Linked DNA regions of Homo sapiens: region 1 is linked to region 2. Evidence: promoter capture Hi-C in human tissues and cell types (Jung and others, 2019). All regions are on one chromosome and are shown on one strand. The core of a region is centred on a gene start or on the middle of the fragment in contact, and the rest is flanking DNA. Distances in the headings are between cores, read along the strand shown.

The links. The method cuts DNA at HindIII sites, captures the fragments that hold promoters and counts their contacts. A contact is called where the count stands out against the background at its distance.
Region 1: a fragment that was not itself captured here is called in contact with the fragment with the promoter of PTPN13 in region 2 in 3 of the 25 tissues and cell types used here (dorsolateral prefrontal cortex, hippocampus and neural progenitor cells).

Annotation. Positions count from the first base shown.
Region 1 is chr4:86,703,401-86,706,138 of GRCh38, reverse strand. All of the region lies in intron 7 of PTPN13 (protein tyrosine phosphatase non-receptor type 13), which reads right to left. Among named protein-coding and RNA genes, the nearest start is that of PTPN13, 110 kb to the right of the region's middle. The HindIII fragment of the contact is 4,391 bases long and covers 1-2,738 here.
Region 2 is chr4:86,592,888-86,595,587 of GRCh38, reverse strand. It overlaps PTPN13 (protein tyrosine phosphatase non-receptor type 13), which reads right to left and starts at 1,273. Exons shown (of 48, transcript NM_080683.3): 1 at 799-1,273. It also overlaps a transcript of MAPK10 not described here. RefSeq lists an enhancer at 1,036-1,622. The HindIII fragment of the contact is 10,688 bases long and covers 1-2,700 here.

The DNA.
Region 1 (2,738 bases), core at 132-2,631, 110 kb before region 2:
AATGGTATCCAGATTCCTTCCACTTCCAAATTCCATGATTTGAAGGTCTTGTGTCCCTTATGCTAGTTAGCTAGTTGATGTTGTTAGCTGGGGAAATGCTGAGGAGATTATTTAGGTAAAGGATCCTTTCAAGAGAATGGGGCCTGGGTTAAGGAAAAAGCTATATTATCAGAGGTTGGAGGAGAAAACTGTTTATTAACTCAATAACCCTCCTAGAACACCCAAAGAACAAATTAAAATTTAGCAATTTTGTTTCTTCCAATTATTATATCAGCTCAAGGAATGTGAGAATACATCCTTTTTTTTTTTTAAGTCACATGTAGTGGGAAATCCTTAGACTGATATTCTGAAAATCCATGATGAAAATCTACAATCTCCAAAATAATAAAACTCTATCTTTAACTCATTATGTGATCTTAGGTATGTTATTAAATCTTTACAAGCCCAAGAATATGTTTCGATAACATGTGCTCTAAGACCTCTTCTAATTCTATAATTACTGAAACCCATTAGCAGCTGCCAAATTTAAAGATCACAAAAATTGTACAAAACATTTCTTTTTAAAACTTTTAAAACACAAATAGTTTAAGAAAGAAATGTGTACAATAAAATGTATACATTGATATTTACAGTTCTGCTTGATTTATCACACATAAAAGGGATCTGTGAAGCCTGTCTCTCACTAGAATTAAATGAGAAAAATGGGATTTACATGATTTTCTATTCTTTTTTCTTTGTATAGTAGCTAAAATCTTCATATTAACAAGCTGCACGTTTGTTTGCGCATGTCTTTTTTTTTTTTTTTGAGACGGAGTCTTGCTCTGTCACCCAGGCTGCAGTGCAATGGCACGATCTTGGCTCACTGCAACCTCTGCCTCATAGGTTCAAGTGATTCTCCTGCCTCAGCCTCCTGAATAGCTGGGACTACAGGCATGTACCACCACACCAGGCTAATTTTTGTATTTTTAGTAGAGATGGGGTTTCACCGTGTTAGCCAGGATGGTCTTGATCTCCTGACCTCGTGATCTGCCCGCCCTGGCCTCCCAAAGTGCTGGGATTACAGGCATCAGCCACCGCGCCCAGCCTTGTTTGCAACATAAATTACCTCACCTTTAGAAAAAGCACAGCATAAGACCAGCAAGTTACTCAACTAAATAACTAGTAAGAATTAGTGCTTTTGAATTCTAAACTTCTAACATTCCTTTTGATTAATGCCTGTAGTCTAAAGCAAACATAATTTATTGCTGCTTTCAAGTTACTATATAATAATGGAGGTTTAAGGTAGTGTATTTCCATAATAATCCAACATTTTTAGGTGTTTGTTTAACTGGGTTGTAAAATATCCTCTGGGGGAATAATGGGTAGGTTCTTCATGAGAGCAAATGCTTTTGAAAACCCTAGTTAAAAAGATTTCAAGATTGTCCTATATCGAACAATTGAAAGCAGATTTTTTTTTAAAAAGCTTTTCTTTTGTTTGTGCATCCTATAACAAATACGAAATTTCTAAATCTGGAAATGATGTATCAAATACGTAATTACCTTTTGAACAAATAAGGCTCTACAAGAATTATGTATCATCTTTGCAGATATAAAAGCATATGTAGAAATAAGATGGTCTGAGTTTCCTTAACACTTATACACATGTGCATACACATTAACTGAGAAGATAATAGAATCATATGCTACAATAGTCTAATATATTTTGTTATTGGTAATGAAAAACAAACGAAATATATTAAATAGACTATTATGGTATAATTTAACAGATTAAATACGTTTCCATTAATGTTTGATGTTTTTCCTGTTTAACTCTCAAACCAAGGTTCAAGTATAAAAAAAAAATCTCAAGCTTTGCTAATTCACATTACTACTAATTTACCAAATATCAAGACAAGTAATGTTTTGAAACTTAGATCACACATAAAAACATTAGAAATTATAATGATTATTATTTGAGACGGAGTTTCGCTCTTGTTGCCTAGGCTGGGGTGCAATGGCGCGATCTCGGTTCACTGCAACCTCCACCTCCTGGGTTCACTTGATTCTCCTGCCTCAGCCTCAGCCTCCCAAGTAGCTGGGATTACAGGCATGCACCACCATGCCTGGCTAATTTTTGTATTTTTTTTTCAGTAAAGACGGGGTTTCTCCATGTTGGTGAGGCTGGTCTCGAACTCCCGACCTCAGGTGATCTGCTCGTCTCAGCCTGCCATAGTGCCAGGATTACAGGCATGAGCCACCACGCCTGGCCAATTTTATTATTACTATCATTAGAGACAGAGTCTCGCTTTGTTGCACAGTCTAGAGTGCAGTGGCTTGATGACAGATCACTGCAGCTTCAAACTTCTCAGCTCAAGTGATCCTCCCACCTCAGCCTCCTGAGTAGCTGGAACTACAGGTGTGCACCACCACACTTGGATAATTAAAAAATTTTTTTTGTAGATATGAGGTCTTGCTATATTGCCCAGACTGGTCTTGAACTTCTGACTTCAAGCAATTCTCCCACCTTGACCTCCAAAAGTGCTAGGATTACAGGTGTGACCCACCATGCCTGGCCTATAATTTCATTTTTAACATTCACAATAAAAAAAAGATACCATTCAGCCTTTTAAATACTCATATAGATTGGTACATATCTTCATTATTTCTATTTCAAAACTATAATGGTTTTATCTATTTGAATCATTGAAGGTTTTTTTTTTTTCACAATGGACAAGATTTCTTTATATAATTGTTTCCAT
Region 2 (2,700 bases), core at 24-2,523:
TGGTGTCGATCATATACGTGTATGGCCAATGAAAACTGTATTGCTGTAAATCTCTTAGTGATATTTCTCCCCATCCTCCTCTCTCCATTATATTCACAACAGAAGGAAATTAAACTTTGTAAGAATTTTCTTGACTTTGGTTTAACTTTAGCTTCCCAGCTGTCTGCTCTTACAGTATCACGTAATGAGCAAAGCGGTGGGGCTAGGGGGCCGGAGGGTAGAGTGTTAACTTTAGCAAGCAGAAGAAAAGCAATAAAAGACCTTGCATCAGACAGTGTCTCTCCCTCTGCCCCCTCTTCCTCTGCTTCCCCGCCATCCCACCCCCTTCTCGAGCCCTTACACACACATTCTTCTGGGCGGCCTCTAACCACACCATCTCCACAATCATTTGCAGAAATTAGAAACAGACTCCGGGAGCCCTTCCCTTAAGCACGCACAGAGCGGAGCTGTGCAAGCACGACGGGGCAATGTCACTCCCTATTACCCCACAATCTCTTACTCCCCCTGTGGGTTTCATTCCCGAGAATCCGGCTTTCTTCCGCAGAGGAGATGGATCTACCTAATTAGCAATGGAGTTTCATCTCATTCTTCCCCACTCCAGTCACCCCACCCCCACTCTAACGTACAAAAACACCCACCACCAAAACCAAAGAAAAGTTCCTTCTACCAGGGCAACCGAGGAGTTGGGTTTAGGGACTGGAGCGAAAGCAGAGAGAGGAGGAAGAGAACGAGCGCAATGTACTTTGTTTTGCACTTCTGCACATGCAGCGCAGAGCCCAGGGCGGCTCTCGTCCTTACCGGCTGGTCCCGAGACCGGGTCCTGCTACTGGAGCGCCGGGCGAGGGCTGCAGGGACGCGGCGTCGGGGCGGGCCGCCGGCAGCCGCCGCGGGCGCCGAGAGCCACCACCACTTCTCCCACAAGCGGCTGCGGGCGTGGGCTGAAGGAGCTGTAGAAGGAGCCTGGGGAGGGGGAGAAGAGGAGCAGCATCTCCTCCTCCTCCTCCTCGCCTCGGAAACGCTCCCCAGCGGCGATCCCGGCCGACTGCCTGACCCCCGAGCGCTCAACGCACCCCCGCCGCCCTACTGTGCTCGACGCCTCTCCAAGAGCTTCGCCAAAACCTTCTGGCGCGGGCGGCTCAACTCCTGTAGGCGACTCTGACCGCTGCCGAGGCGGACCGGGGAGCTACGGAGCACGGCTCGCCAGCACGACGGTCTCCAGGGGCCGTGAGCATGGTGTGTCACCCTCGCCTCAGCGTGGCCGCTGGAGCTACTCGCACCACTGGGGCTCCACCTCGGGCAGCCGCGCCGGCTCCGCCCCCCCGGTCCTGTCACTCAACCATTCCCCGGCACTGGGAGGACCGCAGATCTCCCACCCCGAGCTCCCCTCGACCTCATTGGCCCGCCTGGCATCCAGCTCCACCTCCTCCCTAGGGACGAGGTCGCCAGGGAGACCAGCGCCCCGGTTGCCATGACAACCAGTGCCTTGGGCCTGGCTTTTCGCGTTCTTCGGACTAGCCAGAGGCTCAGGTTGGTGACCGAGCGGCAGAGTTCCTAGCGCCTGCAGTGTGGTGAACTCCAACTTTTAGGCCAAGTTGAAAATGCAGCCGACGACCCCCACACTTCTAACTTCAGAATCAAAACTATGACCCTAGGGAGTGAGGAGGAGAGTGAAAAATGCGTAAGTGCTGGCTCCTCCCTTACTCTTCGCTGCCTCTCAGCCTTGTTTCTATATTCTCACGGGGCGCTTTGGTCTTTGAAAGGAAGAGGAGAATGGGGGAGAGGAAGAGCATGGCTTTGCCAGCTCCTTGCAGCAATATAGCAACTTAGAAATGGCGGGGTCAACGAAAAAAGCCCGGTGAGTTTTCCCACGGTTGTAAAGCTATCTTCAAAAGTGTGGTGACAGCACAACGCCAAATGCCCTAGGGAAAACTGAAATTCTCATATTTTTGAAAAAAGTTTGTAAATACTTGCCTTGTTATTTTATCTATGAGACTAAAATAATCCCGAAGTTTGAAAATTTAAGGAAAAGGTTTAACATAGTCGATAACCTCCCACTTTTCTATATACACTGAAATTTGGCCAAGGTATATCCAGACAGCTGTACCCCTCCTTGCTGCAAGCCGAAATATTTGAGTTTCAATAGTTAAACAAGAGAGTCTTGCTGAATTCATGAACAAATAATATCCTGTGATTTGAGTTTTGAAAGTTTTGGGTTATTCTCAGAGGTATAAGGTAAACTGGTCCACTCTGGAAAGGGTACCTGAAGATAAATTTAGTCTGAGACCCTTAATGTTGAGCCCTAGGTAAATCTGAATTTCATGGCTGGCTCCAAAGTGGAGAGATCTGAGGCTTATTTGGCTTCCCCAAAAAAAGTCAAAGCAGCAATCCTAGGTTCCCTAGCCCCTGAGGCTGCCATACATGTATGATGAATGAGGGAATTAATAGTAATGATTTATCTTTGGCGAGCACTTGAGTTTTCATTATATCATTTACTAAATGAATAACTATGATAGATATCTTCAGTCAAATATGCCTTACAAGTATGCATTGAATGTGATTACTCATAGGGCTAAACACAACGGAAAATACACAGCAGGATTTTAAGCTAAGTCCCCGCTCCCAAGGAGCTAACCTGGAGCCTAAGAAAGAAAACTAGCACTCTTGAAACAATTTGAGAACAATTATAGCTAAAATGTGCAG